3 separate regions of the Homo sapiens genome follow, and all the other regions are linked to region 3. Evidence: promoter capture Hi-C in 16 types of primary human blood cells and fetal thymus (Javierre and others, 2016). All regions are on one chromosome and are shown on one strand. Each heading gives the region's core, a stretch centred on a gene start or on the middle of the fragment in contact. The rest is flanking DNA. Distances are from core to core; before and after follow the strand shown. Region 1 has its middle 29 kb from the start of TRI-TAT2-1. Region 2 holds the start of TRI-TAT2-1 (tRNA-Ile (anticodon TAT) 2-1). Region 3 holds the start of DYNC2LI1 (dynein cytoplasmic 2 light intermediate chain 1).

Evidence for each region. The method cuts DNA at HindIII sites, captures the fragments that hold promoters and counts their contacts. A CHiCAGO score of 5 or more calls a contact.
Region 1: a fragment that was not itself captured here is called in contact with the fragment with the promoter of DYNC2LI1 in region 3 in 1 of 17 cell types (total CD8 T cells); the score reaches 5.1 in total CD8 T cells.
Region 2: a contact is called between a fragment that was not itself captured here and the fragment with the promoter of DYNC2LI1 in region 3, in 4 of 17 cell types (total CD4 T cells, total CD8 T cells, naive CD8 T cells and 1 more). The highest score is 7.1, in total CD4 T cells.

Annotation. Positions count from the first base shown.
Region 1 is chr2:42,837,482-42,841,451 of GRCh38, forward strand. No RefSeq gene overlaps it. Among named protein-coding and RNA genes, the nearest start is that of TRI-TAT2-1, 29 kb to the left of the region's middle. The HindIII fragment of the contact is 249 bases long and covers 1,907-2,155 here.
Region 2 is chr2:42,810,308-42,814,505 of GRCh38, forward strand. TRI-TAT2-1 (tRNA-Ile (anticodon TAT) 2-1) reads left to right here and starts at 229; the gene lies at 229-321. RefSeq lists silencers at 1-302, 593-882 and enhancers at 963-1,062, 1,093-1,172. The HindIII fragment of the contact is 2,540 bases long and covers 1,145-3,684 here.
Region 3 is chr2:43,772,586-43,776,658 of GRCh38, forward strand. DYNC2LI1 (dynein cytoplasmic 2 light intermediate chain 1) reads left to right here and starts at 1,454. Exons shown (of 13, transcript NM_016008.4): 1 at 1,454-1,561. The coding sequence starts at 1,554. LOC105374571 (a long non-coding RNA gene) reads left to right here and starts at 1,568. Exons shown (of 2, transcript XR_940033.2): 1 at 1,568-1,961; 2 at 2,288-2,407. RefSeq lists an enhancer at 1,340-1,389. The HindIII fragment of the contact is 6,929 bases long and covers 1-4,073 here.

The sequences.
Region 1 (3,970 bases), core at 781-3,280, 930 kb before region 3:
GGGTGGGAAGGGACGGAGACAGTTCAAAATGCAGCAGACCCTGGTCATTAGTTTCTTTCTTTCTTTTTTTTTTTGAGATGGAGTCTCACTCTGTTGCCCAGGCTGGAGTGCAGTGGCACAATTTTGGCTCACTGCAACCTCCATCCCCCGGATTCAAGTGATTCTCTTGCCTCAGCCTCCTGAGTAGCTGGGATTACATATGTATGCAACCACACCTGGCTAATTTTTGTATTTTTAGTAGAGATGGGGTTTCACCATGTTGGCCAGGCTGGTCTCGAACTCCCAACCTCATGTGATCCACCCACCTCGGCCTCCCAAAGTGCTGGGATTACAGGCGTGAGCCACTGTGCCCAGCTGCCCTGGTCATTTCTTATGGAGAAGGATGGATAATTGAGTGTGAAGCCAACAGCTAGGGACAGCCCCTCCCTGAGAGCAGGACCAGGTCTAATGAAGACACTGGTGACATGTGCCTGGCTTGCTTTCGGAATTGCACTGTGCTAGTTTCTTCTCCTTTTTGAATGAGAGTGTCTGTTGCCATTATCCTGTGTCCACTTTGTTGCTGTACGTTGGCCATGGGGGAAGACAACTTGTCTCTTTAGCTCACAGATCTTCAGGGCAAAACAAACCCTCTCTAAAGAACCACACCTGAGGGGCCTTATTTGCACCTGGACCTGAGTTAGAGGTTGAGGTCCTGGATTTGGAGCCTGAACCTAAAGGCTTCATGGCTGATACCTTAATGGTCTTGGAAGGCGACTGTATTTTGCACGTGGGAGGTATGTGATTCATGGGAGGCAGAGGGCAGACATTGTGGCAGCTAGTCTTCCAAGATAGCACCCCCGTGTTCACACCCCTAGTATGCCCAACCTTGTGTATTCCCCTCTCTTAACTCTGGGTTGTCTCCGTGACTCGCTTTTGACCAACAGAAAGCAGTGATGGTGAGGCTGCATGACTTCTGAGGATAGGCCATGGGAAGCCTTTTGCCTTTCAGCTGGGTCTGTTAGAAAGCTTGCTCTGGGGTAAGTCAGCTATCATCTTAGAAATTTGATTCCTCTGAGGCCATCATACTATAAGGAAGCCAAGATAGCCACATGGAAAGGCCACATGGAGAAAGCAATAGATTCAGCCAGATTCCACTTGTTCCAGCCATCCCAGCTGAGGATGAAAGAAGATAGGTGAAAGAAGATGCTGCCATCTTGGATGTGCAGTCCAGTTGAGCCAACGTTTGACTCTAGACCAAGGGTGTCCAATCTTTTGGCTTCTGTGGCCACATTGGAAGAAGAAGGACTGTCTTGGGCCACACATAAAATACACTAACAATAGCTGATGAGCTAAAAACAAAAATCACGCACACAAAAAATACTCATAATTTTTTAGAAAGTTTATGGGCTGGGCATGGTGGCTCATGCCTGTAACTCCAGCACTGTGGGAGGCTGAGGCGGGTGGATCACCTGAGGTCAGGAGTTCAAGACCAACCTGGCCAACATGGTGAAACCCAGTCTCTACTACAAATACAAAAATTAGCTGGGCATGGTGGTGGGTGCCTGTAATCCCAGCTACTTGGGAGGCTTAGACAGGAGAATCACTTGAACCTGGGAGGCAGAGGTTGCAGCAAGCCGAGATCACGCCATTGCATTCCAGCCTGGGCAACAAGAGCGAAGCTCCATCTCAAAAAAAAAAAAAAAAAAAAAAAAAAGAAAGTTTACGAATTTGTGTTGGCCTGCATTCAAAGCCATCCAGGGTCTCATGCAGCCCATAGGCTGCAGGTTGGACAAGCTTGCTCTAGGTCCTGCTGCCATTTGACTGCGACTACATGAGAGACCTGTCCCCATAAGCGACCACTAAGTCCAGGTAACCCTGAGAGCTAAAAATATTTTGTTTTTATTAAAAATAATTGTTTTTAATTAAAAGCTTCTTTTGTGTGGAGATGGGGGTCTCTCTATGTTGCCCAGGCTGGTCTTGAACTCTTGGCCTCAAGTGATCCTCCTGCCTCGGCCTCCCAAAGTGCTGGGATTATAGGAGTGAGCCACCATGCCTGGCCAATTGATTTTAAAGCACTAAGTTTTGGGGTTTGTTATGCAGCAGAGATAACCAAAACAGCACAAAATTGCACCTATTTTAATAAAAATGTAAATTAAAGTAAATTGTAAAAGATCAAAGCTTAAAGTTACTTCTCTTGTAAGTTTTAAAAATTATTTTTTCTTAAAATCTTCAAAATTATCTATTAAAATTAAAAGGCAAACATAACTAATAGTATAACCGATCAACTTTATCTAATACATTCAACATTTAAATAAGATGTTTAAGTGAAGCTAAATTTTAAATATAAGTCTTGAAAATGTAATGAAGTCTTACTAAACATTTTTACAAAAATAAACTCATTTACAATTGTAGCATTGTTCCATGTCTGTCTAGTTGCCAATGTAAAGCATCAGTGTCATGCTTCATGCATGTTATATCTTGACCTACATGTGTGCAAATGTAGGCAAATTATGAATTATTCATATTGGAAAATGCTCCTCAGCTGCCATGTGCAACTATAGCAAATATTGTGCTAATGTGTGAGTACCTCTGCAACCACAAAGAAAAGCAAGAAAGTGCATCTTGCCACCGCTGGGATCTGCCACTTCTCTTGCATTCTTGCTATGTGAGAGGAAGGATTTGATCAATGCCTTTTCTCTTACCTTAGTGTGCACACCATCCACTCCTCGCTACACTCCAGAGCCAGGGCAGTGTCTGTCTCTGGTGTGAACAGCAGCATAGCCCAGAAATTTTCACAGTATGTAGACACAGTCTTTTTTGATTCAAGGACATAACACAAAGGATGTGAGGCGTTTCCCTGGGGCCTGAATGGTGTTGCTCATGAGAGTGGATGTTTTGGGGTTAGAGATCACACTGTACTAGTGCTGAGTGCTGGATCTCGAGGGACAAGGGCAGAGATATCCATGTATTCTTTAATGTGTGTGTGTGTGTGTGTGTGTGTGTGTGCAGGGGCCTCTCTTGCCTATGTCTAAGGGCAGTACTGCTTCTAGCTGGCCTGTCCAGATCTGGCAGAGGTCTTTTATGTTTCTCTTCCAGAGAACTATGGGATTCTGACCCTTGGAAAACACATTTTCACTCTGACTCTGTTCTTTGGTTTGGAGCCTATTTCATAGTTAGTTATTAGTCTGGTATGTTAGATGGGACATTTTCAGTTGCAAGTGACAGAAGACCAAATCAAACAGGCTTGAGCAGAAAGGACTATATTGGCTTCCACTGCTGAGAAGTCCTAGGGCGGAGATCCAGGGCTCAAACTTGTTTTCAGGGGTGGGAGCTGGGGAGCCCTGGGATTAACAGATGGCCCCACCAGGACTCCTGCAGTGGGGGGCAGTGGGGATGTGTGTGGTTCCCTCATGGACCGGGGACAGCCAGACAAGAATGTGTCCTCCAGACCTGGTTATCACCTTTTCTGAAATGTAGTTCTTGAGTCTATTGTGCCGGGTGCCTGTGCCAGATTTCTCAAGCAGCTCAGGTGCTGGGCACGATCTTCCTGAAGCATCTGCAGCCTGGAGCCATTCCCCCCGGCCCCCACTCATGTTTCAAAGCTCTCAAACCCTCTCTGCGCCCCCAGCGTTGAGTGTGACATCTCACCAGTAAAGCCTGGTGAGGACAGAAGGCTTTCTGGGCATAGAAGACCATTTCCTTGGGTCTATTTAAACCCTCAAGGACCCCCCTAGGGATGGCTCCCCTGGAATATTACCACTGCAATAGTGCAAAGTAAAAATGCCTGTACAATAAAAACCAAAGAAACCATCTCTGCCAAGCAACTGGGAGTGTCATCTTTCTCCCATGGAGCTCTGCTGCCAGGCTCACAGTGGTGGAGACCCCCGAGTCCAGCCTCTCATAGACATTTCACTTCACACAGCAGCTCCTCCATGTGGAATCCCTGGAAGCTGGGCATGCAGGACAGATTACCCTCCGCAAGGCCCCCCAG
Region 2 (4,198 bases), core at 1,165-3,664, 960 kb before region 3:
GGGCCCCCGTGGCCCTCCCGTCACGGCCAGGCTAGGCGGCCCCTCCATCCCCGAGGGCGACACTCGCAGGCTTCCCCGGCTCGATCGGCTGCGGAACAGCCGGGAGCTCGGCGCGAAGTCGCAGAAGGCTCGGGCCTGGGCTCGCGCCGCGAACGCGCATGCTCTGCCGAGGCCCGCCGCGGGCGCCAGCGCACCCTGATAGAGCCATCACGAGGCCCATTCAGCAGAGCTCCAGTGGCGCAATCGGTTAGCGCGCGGTACTTATACAGCAGTACATGCAGAGCAATGCCGAGGTTGTGAGTTCGAGCCTCACCTGGAGCAAGACCCTTTTGGATGTTCGCAACCCCTTTTGTGTATCTCGTTGCCAGAAGTAAGGAGTCTCTCTTTAGTCTTCTCCCTTCTTGTTTCTAACTGCTCTGCCGCACGTCCCCATTGGCCGCAAGCAGGAAGCAGCTCGCAGTGGACTCTCAATACCCCTTTTCCGAGCTACTTGTTGCCACCGCGCGACATCCAGCCGCTCGAACTCGGACATCCACCCACTGCGTCCTTCTAGTGCTCTTCTTAGGCGGGTCCTGTAACTGCACCTAGTCCCGGACCACAGGAGGGCGGATGGAGGTGGCGAGGCGCTCCACTGTGGCGGGGTCCCTAGCTGGCCGTGGGGATCGAATATTCTACAGGGCACTTCATTCTACAGTGTGAGCCCGAGCTCCCGGTGCGGAGATGAGGCCTGGGGCCGGGCCGCTGCCCCTCGCCCCCGGGCGGGGCCCAAGCACCGCCGACCATTCCCAGGCGTTGGGGCCCGAGGCCTAGCGCGGGGCGTCCGGGGAGCTGTGGGGAGACCTGGGGCGGCTGTTTTCCGCCCTTGTAACTCGTGATGAGTTCTTCCCCCTCGCTTCTGTCTGCAGAGACCAATAAGACTGCGGGCCCTTCTCCTCAACCCAGGCGCCCAGCCGTCCCTGGGCAGATTTGCAGTTTGGGGAATGTGCTCGGAGAGTTCCCCTCCCCATCATGTGCCCCTTCTCCTAGCGGCACGTCACAAATCCTGGTTCAGAAGTCCTCCCGGGGGCCGGGAAATCAGGCCAAGTGGTCGCCGGCGGATGCGCCCTGCCCCACATCGCCAGGGGGGGTAGGCAAAGCGGGCACAAGCTTAGTTAAGGGATGGAAAGCCTCCTGGACGTGTTCTTTCAAAGGGGAGATTTTCAGCTGTTTTCATGGACGGGATCGTTGCTAGATTTTGGGTGGAAATATTACCCCGCGAGTGGTGAAAATCAAGACCTAGAACGTTCAGAGAAATGGATGGAGGGCGGAGCTCTTGTCTATCTCCTGCGCTAGCCCAGGCTTCGGTTGCTCTCACCCATCCAGCCCCTCGATGCAGAACAGGAACCCTATGCCAACTGGAATGTGGGAAGGGCCGCCCACTTCCCCTCGTCCTGGTGCCGGGTTCCTCGCCAGCCCCGGGGAGGTCGCCTCTGGCTCACAGACATCCTCAGAGGCATGGGATAGGTCCCCTGTAGAAATGCAGCCCAGGCTTAGAAACAAATAAAATCTCTATCCATTAAAAAAGAATAATAATAATAATAAAAAAATAGGCGCGGTGGCTCACGCCTGTAATCCCGGCTTGGGAGGCTAAGGTCGGCGGATTTTTTTTTTTTTTTAATCACCCAGGAGTTTAAGACCAGCCTGGCCATCAGGGCGAAACCCCGTATCTACTAAAAATACAAAAATTAGCCGGGTGTGGTGGCGCATACCTGTAATCCCAGCTACTCGGGAGGCTGAGGTGAGAGGATCTCTTGGATTCGAGAGGCCGAGGTTGTAGTGAGCTGAGATGGCACCACTGCTCCAGCCTGGGCCAGACCTGTCTAAAAAAACAAAACAAAACAAAACAAAACAAAAAAAACTTGCGGCTGAGCGTGGTGGCTCACGCCTGTAATCCCAGCACTTTGGGAGGCCAAGGCGGGCGGATCACGAGGTCAGGAGACCATCCTGGCTAGCACTGTGAAACCCCGCCTCTACTAAAAATACAAAAAATTAGCCGGCTGTGGTGGCGTGCGCCTGTAATCCCAGCTACTCGGGAGGCTGAGGCAGGAGAATTGCTTGAACCTGGGAGGCGGAAATTGCAGTGAGCCGAGATCGCGCCACTGCACTCCAGCCTGGGCGACACAGCGAGACTCCGTCTCAAAAAAAAAAAAAAAAAAAAAAAAAAAGTATGCTTACTTTCTATAAAAAAAAAAACAAAAAACCCAACAGCTTTAATGGGATATAATTCCTATACCATACAACTCGCCCATTTTACAGTGTACAATGGATTTTAGTATATTCACAGATAAGTACAATCATCACCACAGTAAATTTTCAAACATTTTCATCACCTCAAGACTAGTTCTCACCCTCTCATCTTCCCATCCTGTTCCCCCACCAGCCCTAAGCAACCACAAATCCACTTTTTGTCTCTGTAGATTTCCCTAGTCTGGACTTTCCTACGAATGGAATTATACAGCATGTGGTCTTTTGTAATTGGCTTTTTCACTTTATAATGTTTTCAATATTCATCCATATTGTACCATATATCAGTGCTTCATTTCTTTTTATGACTGTATGACAGTCCATTGTATGGATTCTTTCCATTTTTGAATAATGGAGAAAGGGTTGGCATTTTCAAAAGGAAATTTGCCAAAAACTGCTTTGTAAGAGGTGATTAATTTTAAAATGCACAAACAGAAAAGTGATCAGACTCAGAAAGTGCAGGTTTCTAATCTTCACAGGTAACTCACTGACCACCAGGAGTCTCTTAGGTACTTCTGAGAGCTGAGCTCAAAGCAAGATCCCAAACAGACAACAATAAATGAATGAGAGATCATTCTGTCAACCTCCTATCCACAGAGAAATCCTTTCCACAAAACCCTAGCTCCTATTTGAAAACTGCTAGCATCAGAATTTCAGTTCCTCTCAAGGCAACTTATTCCATTTTCCAACAACTCTTATGGTTAGAACATTCTTCAATATTGTTTCTGTCCCTACTGGTTACTGCTGGAATGGCAGTGGCTTTAGGAACTGTTTTCCTGATAAGATGGTAGGGTTGGAAGGAAGCTAAACTAGTTCTTCTTTCCTTAATTTAGAAATCTTCAGCTACGAAATTATTGATTAGGCCATAAACAACAAACATACTCTGAGCCTATTTGTGGCCCAGTGTCTTAAAGTGATGTTGATAGAATTTTTTAAGGTTGTGGTGGGTGATAAAAATCAAGTGAGGCAGGGCATGGTGGCTCACACCGTAATTCCAACACTTTGGGAGGCTGAGGCAGAAGGATTGTTTGAGCCCAGGAGTTCCAGACCAGCCTGGGCAACATGGTGAAACCCTGTCTCTACAAAAAATACAAAAATTAACCCAGTGTGATGAGGCACGCCTGTAGTCTCAGCTACTTGGGAGGCTGAGGTGGGAGGCTCACCTGAGCCCAAGAGGTCGAGGCAGCAGTGAGCTGAGATTGCACCACTGCACTCCAGCCTGAGTGACTCTGTCTCAATTAAAAAAAAAAAAATCAAGTCAGAATATGGGAAAATGCTTTAAAAACCACAAAGTATTATGACATTTTTATTAGCATCAGACCACTGGCTTAGGCCTGACTATACTGTGTAGTGGCTTCAAGAAGGAAGTGGGTAAGTATGAAGTGACCAAACTGCGAAGGAAGCTTGAAGTGACAACTGAACAACCCCAGGCCCCAGCAGGAGAGAAACCTGATGTAACCCAGGCTGACCTTGGCTTTGTAGAATGCTTGGATGAAGAAGGGCTCATCAGAGCTAGGGGTGACACAGCCTGAAAGGAGTGCAGATTCAGTAGAATTTAGAAGAAGAGTGGAGCCAATCTGGAGGCAAATGTTTCTGACAAATGATAAGATGCAATTTTCATAGAGATAATTGTAAGTCTATGTTCAGTTCAAAGTTCCATGTGTGAGGATGCCTGGCTTGACAGCTGTTTGCATGTAAAAGATCTGGGGATTTCAGATGTGTGCAACCTCGGTTGTGCCAGCAGTGTGACCCAACTGCTAAGAATGTCAACTGATTATTAATGCATTACTATATAATGCATTAGATGCTGTGGTGTCAGGGATCACAAACCAGCCATCTATGGAACAAATCTAGCCTGCAGACAGATTTTGTTTGGCCTTCCAGCACTAACTTGCAAAGTGCTGACATTAAAAAA
Region 3 (4,073 bases), core at 204-2,703:
AGCTTAAAGTCTGGCTTAGCACCAGGCTATAGCTGTTGATTCAATGACAGATGTATAAGCCTCCTTTGAAAAATCATCCTTTCTTCGGTGAGCTCTACTCCCATTAATTCCCTTCCTATGTGCAGCTTAGTGTTCTTTACGTCTCCAAAATATACCTAGGTGTTGGGAGGATTTTGTTCCCAATGACTTTATTTGAAATAAACACCCTTTTATCAACCATCAGCCTTGTTTCCAGGAATGTGTTCCTTGTGTTTCTTTGTTCGAAGTTGCTGACCAGCAGCTTATCACACAATAATAACAAGCATTAAGCAGTTATAATGTGTCAGACACCCACGTAAGTTATGTTTTACCTACATTTATCTCATTTAAGATTCACAATCTTTCCCGCTTTACAGGATCAGAAATTCAGTGATTTACCCGATGTGGCAATGTGACAACTTAGCCAGCGTGGCCAAGTCAGAACTTGAACCTAGGTCCATCTCACGCCAAAGCCCATGTACTTGAACATCGCACCATAGAAATCAAGCCGAATAGTAGAGGACTGGAGGGAGGGTATCTCCTTCAAATATTCAGGGCATCTTAGGCTAGAAAGCCTGAGTCTACTCAGCATTCAATACAGACCAAATACTATCAGTGCCATGGTTTCACCATCTCCTTCAGGCATAATTGGTCACTTGCCCTCATGCAATTTTTGTACCTCTATACAATAGTTTAGATCACTCACTTCCTTAGGTGCTTATAATTAGCTGAGTGTGTGTCTTTCTTAAGGGCAGCGATCTTTTCTTACTCATCTCTTTATTCCTTATTCTGTGTAGCATAGGGCCTTGCATATTCAATGATTGTTATTTATTTCAATGCTCGTTATTTATTTGGACACTCCTGCAGATCTATAAAGAGACCACAAAGTTCCAAAAGAAAATAATCTACATTCACAAAGTAAATGAAGTATGTAGGAGATGCACTTGCTTCATTAATTTATTAATAAATACACAATGTGCTATTGAATAAAACTTGAAACAACTAAACATCTAGAAAGTTGGAAAATATTAAAATTACGTGCCTTATTTTAAATTTTAAAGTCCGAATATTCCTTGCTTCTAGTAAATTAGCAGAAAACAGCTCAAGAGATTGTTACACCCTCTATTCCTAAATCATGGCGATTGGGAAGAAAAAAGTGAAAGATGAGAGAGAGAGAGAGCAGAGACCCTTGGCATATAGTTGACACCCAGTAAAAAAATTTTAAAATAAAAGAAAATTGCTTTTAGATCCCAGGTTTGTAACCCCTTATCATCTCGTTCTAGGAGGTAACAAGGAGTTACTAACTTGGGATCTAAAAGCAATCCTAAGGCTTGAGGCCGAGAATGAGATGTAAAAGGACTCCTGAAAACTACATTTCCCATGATGCCCGTCTCCCCACGCAACCGCGGCCGCGACGTCGCTCCCATGGCAACCCAGAAGGCCTCACTCCCAGACTCCTTGCGGAGCTCGCCGCCTGATTCTAGGCTGGTCACTACTCCGAGCCTGTGACGTTTGCGGCAGCCAGGCCGTCGACGATGCCCAGGTATTCCCTGAACCCGGCTTGCGTGGGAAAGGCTACTGAGAGTATTCCTGGAGAGAGGAAGCCCAGGCGGGACCAGCTGTTGGAAGATTGTGGGGGTGGCTACTTGCCACCAGGATATGCAGGGTCGGGGACCTAGGAATCAGCCTTGAGCATAAAGATTCTGCCGCAAACAGGAAAGAAAAGAAAGTTCCCTAGGTAGAAAAGTGAGAGATTTGGAAAGATCAGCAACTCCACCCATTCAATGATTGAATAAAAGTTTCTTGCAGGCCAGAGACTACTTCCGGAGCAGGACATTCGGCGATGAGCTAGACCACAAAGCCTCCTCTCCCCAGGGGCCTCCCCTCCTGGTGCGGGGGTTCGCAGTAATAAGCGAGGGGAAACTTGGAAGGCACTGTGGAAAGTATAACATCACTTTTAAGGGGGGAAACGGGAGAGGGTTTGTAAACTATATTCTAGCTGTTCAATTCTATGATATTCATTTTAATTACCTGTTCACAAGATATTCCTAAACCTTTTCTCAACAATTTATGCTTAAGCACGTCGGGGAGAGGGGTCAGGGAGTGCATCACAGAGCAGGATAAATCTTTTTCTCTCCTTGGGATAGTGTGGAGAATTGTCAGCTTTCCATCAAGGGATAATTGGTTAGTTATAAAGCTATGGTTATACTTCCCGATTTCCGCAGGTGTCGTGGCTGACTGCAGCACCTCCGTCTTTCCTCTCTGCTAGGTATTTGGAAAGCAGATCCTCATATTTTGAAAGAATGTTGTGTAAATGAAGAGCAAACAGCCCGAAACTGAGTTCTGAAGGCTCACCTGTGAAATAAATGCATGAATTTTAGTGCAAACATTTAAGGACTCCTGTTTTGACCCTTTTTCTTATTCCTGGTTCTTGAATAGTATAATTACAAGCCCTCAATAATTTTTGTAATTGTATAGGCCATGCCCTAAACTACATATATATTTTAACAATTATGACAATCCTATAAAGCTGATACTCTTTTTTATTGGCTTTTTAGAGATAGAGAAACAATTGAGCCTGGGGAATAGCACAGAGGATTGCATATATTAGGTGCTCAATAAATATTTGTTTAATTAATAAAGGAATGAAGGATTTAAAGAGGTTAGGTAGTTTTCCCAAGTTCACATACATAGGAAGTAGCAGAATCAGGCTAGGACCTATCAGGTCTTGCCCATGGTTAGTTTTTAGTTTAATATTCCATTTTCACTTAGGCTTTAATTAATATATATATGATTTTATCGTGTAAAGTTATATATCTGTGTAAAGAAATCAATGAAAGGATTGTTTTCAAAATGTTTGTGGTTTTAGGGTTTTTTTTTCTTTCTTTCTTTATGGTTTTTTTTTGGCGGGGGGAGACAAGGTCTTGCTGTGTCACCCAGGCTGGAGTGCAGTGATGTCAACATGCTTACTGCAGCCTCGACCTCCAGGGCTCAGGCAATCCTCCTGCCTCAGCCTCCCTAGTAGCTGGGACCACGAGTGCATGTCACCACACCCAGCTAATTTCTTTTCTTTTTCTTTTTTTATTTTCTTTTTTTTTTTTTTAGACAGAGTCTCGCTCTGTTGCCCAGGCTGGAGTGCAGTGGCACGATCTTGGCTCAATACAACATCCACCTCCTGAGTTCAGGTGATTCTCATGCCTCAGCCTCCTGAGTAGCTGGAGTTACAGACACCCGCCACCACACCTGGCCAATTTTTTTTTTTTTTTTTTTTTTTTTTTTTTAGTAGAGATGGGGTTTTACCATGTTGGCCAGGCTGGTCTTGAACTCCTGACCTCAAGTGATCCACCCACCTTGGCCTCCTAAAGTGCTGGGATTACAGGTGTGAACCACCACTCCCAGCCTCAGCCAATTTTTTTTGTTTGTTTTCTTTTCTTCTTCTTCTTTTTTTATACTTTAAGTTCTAGGATACATGTGCACAACGTGCAGGTTTGTTACATATGTATACATGTGCCATGTTGGTTTGCTGCACCCATTAATTCATCATTTACATTAGGTATTTCTCCTAATGCTATCCCTCCCCCATGCTAATTTATTAGTAGTAGTAGTAGTAGTAGCAGTAGTAGAGATGGGATCTTCCTGTATTGCCTAGGCTGATCTCAAGTGATCCTCCTGCCTCAGCCTCCCATATACTTTTATATTAAACAAAATTTTTTTTTACCTAAAAACATAATCTAAAACACAAAAAAGAAATGTTTCAGGGAGGAAAGATTATTTGATACACTGGTTTTGTACTTTTCCCATCTTCCTAGGTGACTTAAATGTTTGTGGTTTTCAAGTTGTACATTCCCAAAGTCATTGTACCTCCATATGTGTCTGAGAAGCTGACATACACAGCTATGAACCGTAGGGGAAGACCCAAATGTGACAGCCTCAAATCCTGGCAATAAAGGCTCTGCTTATCAATTTCAGTATTCTTCAGAGAACTAGTTCAAAGCAACAAAAGAAAAATAAAATCATAGAATGACTAATCCTCAGATGTTTTACCAGATTATTGT